2 separate regions of the Homo sapiens genome follow, and region 2 is linked to region 1. Evidence: promoter capture Hi-C in 16 types of primary human blood cells and fetal thymus (Javierre and others, 2016). All regions are on one chromosome and are shown on one strand. Each heading gives the region's core, a stretch centred on a gene start or on the middle of the fragment in contact. The rest is flanking DNA. Distances are from core to core; before and after follow the strand shown.

Region 1 (6,756 bases), core at 1,476-3,975:
TGCATCATTACTGTCCCTTTACCCACATCAGAATAATGCAGTTTGCTCCAACGGAAGGCATGAAGAATTGAGAATGAGGTGGCTCAACTTTTTACGTTTTAGTTTCCTCACTAGCTAAATATAACCTAGTGAATGAGTGGTACGAAGGAATTTGTCAGAGCTGCTACGAGGTCCAAACATCCTAAGTGAAAGTGCATCTAAAAGTTCAAATTTTAAAATTAATGTAAGGCACTGAAAACGTGAAGAAACATGTATTGAGTACTTATTATAAGTAATGTACCACAGCTTTAATGGTTGTTTAAAAGATGCATTAGGGAGCAATTGAAAATAAAAGGAATAGCTACAGAGTTTGGGAAGGCACAGGGAAAAGAGTGGCTCAGTATCGAAGATAAAATTCGGGAGAAGACACAATCAGATTTTGAGAGATGGACAAGTCAACCTTAGAATAATTTCCCTTATTTAACCTGTCTTTCCCCTAATAGCAGCACACTCATCTTTCAACTTGCTTTTCCCCACGTTACATATATAATTTGGGAGAAGGAACAAAAAAGCTAGGGGAATTGCAATGACCTAATTGAGATATAAAAGATACTCTCTACATTGAATAGTTACAAACACTTAGAAACAGTATGAAAGGAGGCAGAGATACCAACAGCACTGGAACTGACAATGGAGATCAAATCTCAAAAAGCAGTTTTCTATAGCTTAGTCATACTTGGCTCAATTTTTCACTTTTTGTACTTAAACGTATGGCAATTTTTGGTGCTTTATTTAGTAATTACGTCATTTTGCCTGATAATACAATTTCAGTACATTACTTTCCTTAAATCATTTCCCTTTGGTTAAACAGAAAAAGCAGAATTGGTCTTCAGGCAGGTATGCTCAAATCAAATGATCTCCTTTCCCCATCATGGCAATGTTCTTTCAGTGGTCACCTTCCCTTCAATATTCTTTCATGCAGCAAAGTATCTGAGTCTTTAATCTTGTACTAGGAACTGTCCTGGCACCGGGGAAACCACGTCAACAGGGCTCACATGATCCCTGTCCCTGCCCTCAAGGAGACAGACAACAAATAAACGAATACAATAATTACACGGGGATCAGGGCTGTAAAGGGTACTCTACTAAAGTTAGAGGCTGCGGAACTAATTTGAAGAGGATAGTCAGGGAAGGCCACTCTGAGACCGATTTAGGCAGAGACCTGAAGAAAGATGGATTTGGATAAACAGTTTAAGGAGAGGAAGGAGAGTTCAAGGAAGAGGTACCAATTACACTCATGCTGTGTATGTAAAGGAGGAGGGATAAGAAGAACATTCACTCCAGGCATAGAGACCACAAAGTGCATCTTGGAGAAAAATAAGCGCGTTGCAGAGGGTTAGGTGGCCAGAGTAGCTGAAGCTTTAGGAGCAAGAGACATAAAACGAGATTATAAACGTGGGTTAAGTACCACATCATACAGGGCCGTGCAGGCTATGGCAAGGAGTCTAGATTTTATTTAAATGCCAAGAGAAGTAGGATTACTTCGGATAGCTGAATTACACTATCTTTCTTTTTTGTTAAAAGATCACGCGGGTAAAACGAGATGTGTCGAGGAAAAGTTTTAAATGCAGAGAACCTAAGTCAGATGCAAAAATTATGCACTTTTCCGGGCCTCAGGTTTTCCATAAATAAAGCAAGTGGTTTGAACTAGAAGCCATTTCCTTCCCGCTGCGACGTGGTGAGTTCTAAGAGCAGGGGCCGCGTCAGATTGACCATGGAATTCCCCTCATCGACGCCGGCGCCCAGAACACAACTGGCGCCCTGAAACTGTTGGTCAGCGCAATAAATCAATGAATGGCCTGCTACGGGCGTGGGACCAGGCCCCGGCGCCCGCAAAGAACGCGATGGGTCGCGCTGAAGGCCGCGAGAGGCGTCCGGCAAGGAAATAGGGGCCGGCTCCACCACAACCAAAGCGTGCCGAGGAGGGGAACCGGGGCCTTGGAGATTGAGGGCAGAAAAAAATCAGACTAGGGACCCGACACCGGGAATTAGGAGAGAAGGCCGAAACGTGGGTCTGAGAAAGGATTCTGGTTCCAAGCCTGGGGGCCCAGCCACTCACCGCAGCCGTCGCCAGGCTGTGCATGTTGTGAGCGGCCGCCGCTCTCTTCCACAGCCGGACGCGTCCGACCCGCGTCCCCCCTTCAGCACCCCTGCAGCGGAAAACAATGAGCCGCCGTAGCCGCCATCCGACTCCGGCTCGCTCCGCCCACTTCGCGGCCCTCTGACCTCTCACCCCTGACCCCACCCACACATCCTCTTCCCGCCTCCAGGGCCTAGTTAACAGTCCCAGAGTATGTCCTTTGCCCCTTAAGATTTAGGACCGGAAGGACGTCCGCGACCACTAGTCCCCGCAACTTCTGGCTTTGAGCAGTTATTTCCAGAGAGCGGCGTGAACTCTGACCCTCCTCCAAAAGCCAGTGAACGGCGGGAAAAGATGGACAGTCCCGGCAAGACAACTATTGCGCATGCCCGACTGGGTTGCGTAGGAGGGAAATGGTGGGGGGGCGTCGAAATCGGGTGAGGTGGAAAGTGCGCGTGCCTACTACAGTCACGGCAGGGGCGGGGCTGCCCGGGCTAGGCCGCTCTAGGTACTGGCGGGGCGGGGCGAGGGCGTGTGAGGGGCGGAGTTTTCGACTGACGCGCACGCGCCTGTCTGGTCGCGTCGAGTGTGCGTGCGTGCGTGCGTGTTTGCGTGTGGTCACAGTTCCCGCCATCAGCCGCTCTCCCTGACTAGGGGTAGCTAGCGGCCTCCCTCCTTTGGGTTCGGTATCCCTACTTCCATTACCCTCGGCTCCTCCCACTCCTCGCGGGCTCCGTGCTTTCCGCGGGTCTGTCCGGGGGCTCCGGACCCTCGGCGCAGGTAAGGCGGGCCGGGGTAGCTTCTCAATTGAGCCGTTTTCCCTACCTCCTCCTCCTTCTGTGCGATCCGCCCACTCGGCGTTCACTCCTCTGGAGTTCGCCCTGCTGCTACTCAGCCCGCCCACAACCCCTCGATGCACCCCCAGCCTCACAGGTACTACCTTTGGGTGCACTGCCCCGGCTTCCACCTCTCCTTTGACTTGGTCTCCACTGCCACTCGCTCCCTCCGAAACTCAAACCTGGCCCCTTTTCTCTGGGGCTGTTGTCGTTCGCCTCTTACCTTCTAACAGGGCCTGCTGTCTCTTCAGGTGACTTTCGTTACGGCACATCCACCAGGCCTTGGACATGATACTCATTCACTCTCTTGACCATCTTCACCTTCCTCTTGACCAGTCCTCACTGCAAAACATGAATTGTATTTTTGTTGTGCATTTCCTTGCGCCCATTTCTAGCCGCCAGATCAGGTTGTTAGATGTAACTATTTTAAGTCATGATCCATGAAAGGAAATGATGATTGATGATAAAATCCTGTGTCCTGAAGAGTTGTCCTAAAGTGGTTTTGGGGTATTCCTCTCAAAATTTCAGCTCTGTATAAATTCCTTTATTGAGGTGGCAATTCCTGACAAGTGTCTAACTGGAAGAGATACCTGAGAGGGAATGTCAAGTAGGCAGTTGGATATAGTGGGTTTGGAGATCTTAGGAGAGTTCTGGGCTGCGTACGTAAATGTGCGCGGTGTGTGTATGTGTTTGTCATCTGCCATATTGATAGTAATTGAAGCCATGGATGTGGATGAAATTGCCGAAAAAGAGTATAGTGCTGTAAAATAAAGGCACCTAGGATGGAGCATTGACGAATTCCTGCTGTTTAATAACCAATAGAGGAGGATGCGTCTTGCAAGCCATGAAAAAAGTCATCAGTAGTGTTGCATTCTGCTGAAAGGTAAAATGGAAGGAGGACTGAAAAACCCAGTGATATAAAAGTACTCACTTGTCTTAAAGATGTTTGATGAAGTAAAATGAGTATTTGGGTTCAGTCCTAGGTCCTCTTCTTTTACTCTTATATTCCTCCCTAAGCTTTAAATTTGATCTATATATTGATGACTTAAAAATTGTTATTTCCAGCCTATTCCCTTTGTTTTCAGCTCCACATCTAGATAGCCAGCTGTCTGCTTGACATCTCAACTTGATTTTTTTCTTAGGAGTTTCAGATGCAACACAGCCAAATCCAAAGCCTTGATCTTTCTCTCCATATCGAAATTCTTTCTTCTCCAGTGTCCCAGTTTATTAAGTGGCACATGACACAGGCTACACACTTGGGAGGCATTCTTGACTTCTACTCTCTCCAAGTTCTATCCTACTTCCAATACGTGTCTTGCATCTTTTTCTGTACATTTTCACTGTCACTTTTCTAGTTTAAGCCACAGTCCTTAAAAAACCTGGACTTGATTGCCTTGGCTTCCTGTATTATCATCTGTAAAATGGAAATAGTAATTTTCAGCCTATTGGATTGTTATGAGGATTAAGTGAGATAACCATGATAAGCACTTGGCACAGAGTAAATGGCCAGTAAGCATTAATTGTTATTGTTATAAGCTGATCAACTCAATACTCTTCTATCTGGTTACATTATTTTCTTCTGTTCTTGCTCTTAGTCACTCTCCCAAAACCCAAACCAACCATATATGACTTCCTCATTCAGTAGTAACATATTTCTTTGCTTAAAACCTTTTGGTGGATTTCCTCCTGGTAAGTGCTTGTTACATTTAGGATAAAATTCGGAATCTTTACTGTGGTTCACAAGACTGCATAACCTGGTTCTTGCCTGCTTCACTAACTTCATCTTCCTCCTCTCCTTCACTAAACTGTAGCCACATTGCTTTTAATTTCCCTAGTCATATCAAGTTATTTTACAATTCAAGGCCTTTGGGGATGCTGTTTGCCTGGATTGTTCCAGCACCACCATCTATCAGTCATCTCCTTCTGCAGTTTTCAACTTAAGTGATACCTTCTCAGGGAAGCCTTCTCAATGTTATCCTCTACCCCAAGTCTTAATCTTAAGACTCATCATTCCATGTATCTTGCTTTATATCATTTCTCAGAACTTGTAATTATTGTTATTATTATTTTTTGAGATGGAGTTTTTGCTCTGTTGCCTAAGCTGGAGTACAATGGCATGATCTCAGCTCACTGCAACCTCCGCCCCCTAAATTCAAGCGATTCTCTTGTCTCAGCCTCCCAAGTACCTGGGATTACAGGCACCCGCCACCATGCCCGGCTAATTTTTGTATTTCTAATGGAGACAAGGTTTCACCATGTTGGCCAGGCTGGTCTTGAACTCTTGACCTCAGATGATCCACCTGCCTCGGCCTCCCAAAGTGCTGGGATTACAGGTGTGAGCCACTGCACCCAGCCCAGAACTTGTAATTATATATTTACATGTGTGATTATTTAAAGTCTGTCTCCTATTAGAATATAGGCTAGTGACCACTTCTTTTTTATTTCCCAATAATTTGTTAAATAAGCTGGAAGTTGCTGTAAGAACCATCATGTCTTTTGGAAGCAAAGCTTGCTGATGTTCTTGTCATCATCTCATGACAAACACTTTTCATTCTGAAAAGTTAGAGGACACATGAGAAAAAACAAAACGTTTTCCAACTTTGGATTCTTTTACCCATTTTTATATCATAAAACCATTCAGATTTTAAACTCTTTGAATTGGAGATAAACTTTAGGTCAGCTTTCCACTTTCAGTAACAAAACTAATTTTTTCTCCTTTGTCCATTTGTTTTATAGGTCTTTTTAAAGGAAAGAAAGCCTTCAAAAATCAGAGTAGTGGTTTGTATATTTTAACAACCGGTTAATCTTTAAGACCAGTGAAGATGAGATTTCCATAAATAAAGCAAAATTCCATATTTAAGTCAGTTGTTGGTGAATGACAAAGAAAATATTAATATATGGCCAGCTGCATTGGCTCATGCCAGTAATCCCAGCATTGCGGGAGACCAAGGTGGGCGGATCGCTTGAGCCCCGGAGTTCGATACCAGCCTGGGCAACATGGCAAAACCCCATGTCTATAAAAAATTACAAAAATTAGCCGGGTTTGGTGGCATGTGCCTGTAGTCCTAGCTACTTGGGAGGCTGAGGTGGGAGGATTGCTTCAGCCTAGGAGGTGGAGGTTGCAGTGAGCCAAGATGGCACCACTGTGTTCCAGTCTGGGTGACAGAATGAGGTTCTGTCTCAAATGAAAAAGAAAGAAAATATTAAAATATAATAATTTTTGTATGTGTAGAACAGGATTCGTGTTGAAAAATAGGGAATTTAAAATGGAGGTGTATGAATACCAAACACAAGCATTTGGATTTATTTTATTTTCTAGGTAGTGATGAGCTATTTAGTTTGGGAAGGTCCTAGCATCAATGGCAACCATTTAGCACTTAACAAGTGTTTGTTATTTTGTTGGAGTATACAGTTAGAGTACCCAAGTTCTGTGTGTTACCTCCCTGTCCCGTGCCCCACCTCTACCCCCCACTCCCACCTTAGGGAGAAAGTTAAGAAGATACCTAGTGCATAGTTCAGTTGAAAAGTGGTAAAAAGAGTAGTTCTTTAGAAAGGATGTTACAATGTAAAGGATTTGTTGGAGGTAAAACCCCAAGAGCTGAGACTGGAAAGGGAAGGGGTTGCCATAATTCATTGATGAGGATGAACTGTGGTTGTAGTTAAAAATGTAGGTTCTGGCATTAGACATAGCTTTGTTTCTCACTGACTGTATTTATAAATTATGTAATGTCTCTAAACCTCAGTTTCCTCATCTGTGAAATAGAGATAATATCCCTATCACTTAGGATTATTTTAAAAATTA
Region 2 (6,756 bases), core at 2,815-5,314, 70 kb before region 1:
GCACTTAAGCAGCATGCTCTGCGCCGACACCCCGAGCCTGCACAGCCTGCCCCTGGCTCTCCTGCAGAGACCACTGAGGGCCCCCTGCACTGTTCCCGCTGTGGGTTGCTGTGCCCCAGCCCTGCCAGCTTACGAGGACACACCCGTAAACAGCACCCACGGCTTGAGTGTGGGGCCTGCCAGGAGGCCTTCCCTAGCCGACTGGCTCTGGATGAGCACCGGAGGCAGCAGCATTTCAGCCACCGCTGTCAGCTCTGTGACTTTGCTGCCCGGGAGCGGGTGGGCCTGGTAAAGCACTACCTGGAACAGCATGAGGAGACTTCAGCAGCCGTGGCAGCCTCAGATGGGGATGGGGATGCTGGCCAGCCCCCGCTACACTGCCCCTTTTGTGACTTCACATGCCGCCATCAGCTGGTACTAGATCACCATGTGAAAGGGCATGGGGGCACTCGTCTCTACAAGTGCACCGATTGTGCTTACAGCACCAAGAACCGACAGAAGATCACCTGGCACAGCCGCATCCACACTGGGGAAAAGCCTTACCACTGTCACCTCTGCCCCTATGCCTGTGCTGATCCCTCTCGTCTCAAGGTAATGTCAGAGGATATGGGGCAGGAAGTGGAAGGAGCACAGGCTCTGGAGTTAAACTGCCTTGGTTCTCTATAGCTGACTCCTCCAGATATTAGCTCTGTGACTTTGGGAAAGTTCCTTTACCAAGCCTCAGATTCTTCATCTGTTAAAAATGAGATAATACCAACTTCATAGGGTTGTTGTAAAGATAAAGTTCCATAATGTGGCTCACGCCTGTAATCTTAACACTTTGAGATACCAAGTTAGGAGGATTGCTTGAAGCCAAGAGTTGAAGACCACTCGGCAGCAGAGCGAGATCCCATTACAAAAACTTTTTCTTAATCAGCTGGGCATGGTGGCAAGTACCTGTAGTCCCAGCTACTCAGGAGGCTGAGGTGGGAGGATTGCTTGAGCCTAGGAATTTGAGGCTGCAGTGAGCTATGATCATGCCACTGCACCCCAGCCTGAGTGACAGAGCAAGACTCCATTTAAAAAAAAAAATTGAGGCTGGGTGCGGTGGCTCACGCCTGTAATCCCAGCACTTTGGGAGGCCAAGGTGGGCGGATCATGAGGTCAGGAGATCGAGACCATCCTGGCTAACACTGTGAAACCCCGTCTCTACTAAAAATACAAAAAATTAGCCGGGTGTGGTGGCGGGCACCTGTAGTCCCAGCTACTCGAGGCTGAGGCAGGTGAATGGCGTGAACCTGGGAGGCAGAACTTGCAGTGAGCCGAGATCGCGCCACTGCACTCCAGCCTGGGCGACACAGCGAGACTCCATCTCAAAAAAAAAAAAAAAAAAAAATTATCGGCCAGGTGAGGTGGCTCACGCCTGTAATCCTAGCACTTTGGGAGGCCAAGGCCAGAGGATTGCTTGATCCCAGGAGTTTGAGACCAGCCAGGGCAACATATGGAGACTCTGTCTTTACAAAAATAAATTTTTTTAATTAGCTGGACATTGTGGCGCATGCCTGTATTCCCAGCTACTTGGGAGGCTGAGGTGGGAGGATCGCTTTAGCCCAGGAGGTTAAGGCTGCAGAGAGCTGTGATCACACCAGTTCACTCCAGCCTGGGCAACAGAGTGAGACCCTGTCTCTTTAAAAAAAAAAAAAAAAAAATCCCTAGCAAGTAAACTGAAGATTAAGAAAAACAAAGTTCCATAATGTCTGCTTGCCATATGATAAAGGCATAGAACAGGGCAAGAATAACCTGGATAATAACAGCTAACATTTATTGAGCACTTACTATATTTTCTGCTTTTTGCTCTTGCCTCTTCCAGTACCACATGCGGATCCACAAGGAGGAACGGAAGTACCTGTGCCCTGAGTGTGGCTACAAGTGCAAGTGGGTCAACCAGCTGAAATACCACATGACCAAGCATACAGGTGAGTCTGTGTGGTTTCGACAGGCCTGAAGGGTTCCTTTGTTCCCTGGCAAACCTAACCTTACCAAGGTTGGTCCTTGTTCCAATTCAGGGCCAACATCAATTTCACATTGGGAGTAGACAGCAGGGTGGGGTTGTATGTGCCAGAATGGCTCCCCAACCCACTGAAGACCTGTCAGAATCAGAAGGGTAAACCTGAGAGCCTGGGCATATGTACTTTCCAAAAGCTTCCCAGGTGACTGTGTTACGAAGTCAGTCATTTTTCCCCTCTTGAGAACCCCCAACTCAAACTTGTATGACTAAGGGCAGATTTGCTTGGCTCTTACACAGACATGATGGAACTATCATGAGTTAAAAAGGAGAAAGTGAAGGATTCTCCTGTTCTAGTCTGTCCTTTTCTTCTCCTGGGTGTGGATGGAATCCACAAACCCGGTTCTTGAAAGCACACAATCGTGTGCCTGTGCTTATTGCATCTGATCCCCCTATGTGGAGGAATTGATTAGGAGCATTTCAAGGCCCTCTGCTTTTATGAATGCCACTTATTTCACCTCTACCTCTTCCCTCCTAAGTATTTCTTTTTTTTTTTTTTTTTTTTTTTTTTTTGAGACAGAGTCTCGCTCTGTTGCCCAGCCTGGAGTGCAGTGGCGCAATCTAAGCTCACTGCAAGTTCTGCCTCTGCCTTCCGGGTTCACACCATTCTCCTGCCTTAGCCTCCCGAGTAGCTGGGACTACAGGCACCCGCCACCACGCCCGGCTAAGTTTTTGTATTTTTAGTAGAGATGGGGGTTTCACCGTGTTAGCCAGAATGGTCTCAATCTCCTGACCTCATGATCCGCCCGCCTCGGCCTCCCAAAGTGCTGGGATTACAGGCATGAGCCACCATGCTCGGCCCCTCCTAAGTATTTCTTTTACTTTTTTTTTTTTTTTTTTTCAGTGACAGGGTCTTGCTCTGCTGCCCATGCTGGAGTGCAGTGGTGCAGTCATAGCTCACTACAATCTCAAACTCCTGGGTGCACATCATCTTCTTGCCTTAGCCTCCCAATTAGCTGGGTCTACAAGTGCACGCCACCACGCCCACCTAATTTTTTTGTAGACAGGGTCTCACTTTGTTGCCCAGGCTGGGTCTTTGACTTTTTGAGTTGAACAAGCCGTTGTGTTTAAATGAATTGTCGAATTCCATGAGTACTCTGTGACCAAAAGAGGGTTATAATTTCCCATGGGGAAACCCTTCCATATTTGAGTATTCATTACTGTCAGGTAGCTAGTTGGTTAGAGGTCCCGTTAATCATCAGCATCCATTGGGCACCCACAACATTGATTGCTGGGACTACAACATTGAGTTCTTGTTGATGTACAAGGACGCTGTGTTGGAAAGGCACAGAAATGTCAGACAGGGCCAGGCGCGGTGGCTCATGCCTGTAATCCCAGCACTTTGGGAGGCCAAGGAGGGCACATCACTGGAGGTCCAGAGTTCAAGACCAGCCTGGCCAACATGGTGAAACCCTGTCTTCACTAAAAATACAAAATTAGCCAGGTGTGGTGGCCCATGCCTGTTATTCCAGCTACTTGGGAAACTGAGGCAGGAGGATCACTTGAACCTGGGAGGCGGAGGTTGTAGTGAGCCGAGATTGCACCATTGCACTCCAGCCTGGGCAACAAGAGCGAAACTCCGTCTCAAAGAAAAATAAAAGAAAAAAGAAATGTCAGACAGGACTGGAGGACTGGAGCATTCCAAAGAGATGGTCATTAGTCAACTTGCTGCTTGCATTCTTTATATCCACTGATTGCAGTAACTCCATGGCCCAGTAAACCTTGCTCCACCGCCTTTCAATGGTGATTTGTTCCCTGTCCTGTAGGACTGAAGCCATACCAGTGTCCCGAGTGTGAGTACTGCACCAACCGGGCTGATGCACTGCGTGTGCACCAGGAGACCCGGCATCGAGAAGCACGGGCTTTCATGTGTGAGCAGTGTGGCAAGGCCTTCAAGACGCGCTTCCTGCTGCGCACCCACCTTCGCAAGCACAGTGAGGCCAAACCCTATGTGTGCAATGTGTGCCACCGTGCTTTCCGCTGGGCTGCTGGCCTGCGCCATCATGCCCTCACCCACACCGACCGCCACCCCTTCTTTTGCCGCCTCTGCAACTACAAGGCCAAGCAAAAGTTCCAGGTGGTCAAGCACGTACGCAGGCACCACCCTGACCAAGCCGACCCAAACCAGGGTGTGGGCAAAGACCCCACCACCCCCACAGTGCACCTGCATGATGTGCAGCTGGAGGATCCCAGCCCTCCTGCTCCTGCCGCTCCCCACACTGGACCTGAGGGCTGAAAGCCTGCCCCACCTCCTGTATAGGAAGAGGGTATGGTCTGAGATGTGCAGACTGGGACCAGCGCTAGCCTGAGGAGCTCAGAGCCTAAGGAAAGACTGGCTTTTGGGGTACAAGGGTGACTAGAACCTTCCTGGGACTCTGGCTATAGTACTTTGAAATTATCACCCATATAAAAGAGGGACATGGACTATAACGTTGATTTCTTATTGCTGTACATTGCGTTTTTAACCTGCAAGTTCTCAGTTTCTTCACCATCACTCCATCAAAGTCCCTGGCTATAAGATCTGGATTTTACCCACTCCATCTTCTCTTTCCTTCTTACTGTGTCAATTCCTATTTTCTTTCAGAATCTTCTAAAAACAGTTGTATCTAACCGCATGTGCTGTTGTGCCTAATGCTCTATAAAGCATGTTAAACAGAAAGTGGTTACTACATTATAGATTCATCCAAATCCCTGTCTTAACATTTCCAGGCTGTCATCTTGATCAACTCTGTCCCCTCTCAGACCTCTGCCTCCCTTTTGTCCCTTCCATCTTCACTCAGTATTGATACTGAAACAGGCCTAGGTCTGCCTTCTCCCTGTCCTTGAGCCATCTTGACCCTTGACCTGCTCCCTACTTCCAAGCTCCTTTGTCTACCTGTATCTATAGAGGGAGGATTGCTACCCACTAAGCCTCCTCCTAGAAGCAACTTTAGCTCATCATCAATCCTCAGACTGGCTCAGCAGCTACACTAAGGTGTTAAAGCACAAGGATACTATGGAAAGGCAGATGACTAGAGAGGAAAATCTCCAATTCAGAATTCTATAACTGCTTCACAGTATAATTCTGTAGTGCCTTACTATATAATTGATCATCTAAACTGAGACACACTGGGAAAACTTAAAGAGGGTACTATTAATAATTATGCTGGGACAACAGACATAAACCAGGATGGTTCCAGCCAGACTCTTCAGGAAGGCTGGGACCACATAACCTTTTGTCTGCTTTTGCCCTGATTCTTAAAAGCCATACTCTGTGTCCTTCCTATGTAGCACATGCAAGAGGTCTCCTGGGAACCTCTTTCTCTACCTTTTCCTTGTCTCACCTGACTACCCAGATGTCCCCACAACCCTTGTACCTCCCCTTCTTGCCCAACAATGACAGACCATATTGAAGCCAAATTGGAGAGAGATGTATTTATACCAGTGGGGCTAAGGAGGAAGCAGTCCAGTGGGGGACTTTGAGTGCTGTGCAGTGTTCTCTTAAGAGTCGTAGTACAGTCCTGGGGTCAAGTCTCTTTCCCTAATCTTTGCTGGGGAAGCCTTGAGCCTTGATTTATCCTTCCCTTGGCTTTGGGCTTTGAGGAAGTTGGGGATGGAGGGGATGATGCTTCTTTAGGTTTCTCTATTCCAAGCCCCTCTGAATTTCTAGTTGCAACCTGCCTTCACACAGAGTTGATGGGAAAGATTAGTTGTAGATGTCGGTATGGGATTGAGCCTACAGCAAGAGGAAGAAGGGAACTCCAGTATAGAGTACACAAAGGAAAAGGGCAGGAAAGATACCAAAGGCTTATGAAAACAAAGGAAGGGAAGAAAAGAGAAAAAAGGTGGAAAATCAGGTCCCAGATTGCTTGTTAGGAAGAATGAGGTAATTTTGTGCCTAGGAATGCACAATCCAAAGCTTGATTTTCACCACCTCCATTTGTTCTCTCGAGCATCCTTCCAGATGTTTCTCCCCGTCTAAAGCCAGCACACCAACCCTTCCCGTGAAATGCCCACCTCAGGACTCATCCCCCTCCAGGCCTTCCTGGATGCAGATATACACAAAGATGGAAGCTGGGCGGAGGCTGATGCCATCTTTGGACAGCAGGTGAATGTGGCGGTAACCTGGAAGGGGCAGGAGGACAGCATTAGGAAGGCAGCCAGAGCTGGGGTATTGGCCAGGGGCCAAAGGGGCTGGCTCACCTTGTTGCATGCAGGTCCAAGGCAGGGTGTACTGACCAATAAAGTCATTTCGGGATTTCCAGTCATAATCCATTACCACAAAACGCAGCATGGCAAGTTCAGGCACCAGCACCCGGAAACATAGTGTCTGCCCCCAGTATGGATTAAAACCTGAGTTGGTGGACAGAAAGAAATAAGAAGACATTATGACAGTTTTCTTGACTGGGTTGCTTTTCTTGTGTTCTCATTTAATCTAGATGGCAATCAGCATTTTACAGGTAAGGAAAAAGGCTCAGAGTAAGCAAGTAATTTGCCCAGGTCACTGGAGCTTTTAAGTGAAGAGCCAGGATTCTTTGTACTGTTCCACACTGCCTCCCATGTGGGGACATGCAATAACAGATGCTATACTTAATGGAAGACAGACTAGAAGGAAAACTAATCATGCTCCTACCCCCACCTCCCCAGCACTGCCAGTTTCTCACCATTGTTCTCCACATAGTTGGTCTCCTGCCGTGCTGTGTCTAGACGAACGCCAAAGATCTGCACTTTCA

What was found. The method cuts DNA at HindIII sites, captures the fragments that hold promoters and counts their contacts. A CHiCAGO score of 5 or more calls a contact.
Region 2: a fragment that was not itself captured here is called in contact with the fragment with the promoter of USP37 in region 1 in 1 of 17 cell types (endothelial precursors); the score reaches 7.3 in endothelial precursors.

What each region holds. Positions count from the first base shown.
Region 1 is chr2:218,564,320-218,571,075 of GRCh38, reverse strand. It overlaps USP37 (ubiquitin specific peptidase 37), which reads left to right and starts at 2,725. Exons shown (of 26, transcript NM_020935.3): 1 at 2,725-2,898. CNOT9 (CCR4-NOT transcription complex subunit 9) reads right to left here and starts at 2,237. Exons shown (of 8, transcript NM_005444.3): 1 at 2,098-2,237. The coding sequence starts at 2,121. RefSeq lists enhancers at 1,643-1,832, 1,627-2,254, 2,255-2,882 and silencers at 2,543-2,602, 2,693-2,762. The HindIII fragment of the contact is 2,574 bases long and covers 1,400-3,973 here.
Region 2 is chr2:218,635,863-218,642,618 of GRCh38, reverse strand. It overlaps ZNF142 (zinc finger protein 142), which reads left to right. Exons shown (of 11, transcript NM_001379659.1): 9 at 1-591; 10 at 1,850-1,955; 11 at 3,811-6,756. The coding sequence ends at 4,280. It overlaps PLCD4 (phospholipase C delta 4), which reads right to left. Exons shown (of 16, transcript NM_032726.4): 14 at 6,688-6,756; 15 at 6,227-6,376; 16 at 5,444-6,148. The coding sequence ends at 6,042. Among named protein-coding and RNA genes, the nearest start is that of ZNF142, 20 kb to the left of the region's middle. The HindIII fragment of the contact is 3,761 bases long and covers 2,184-5,944 here.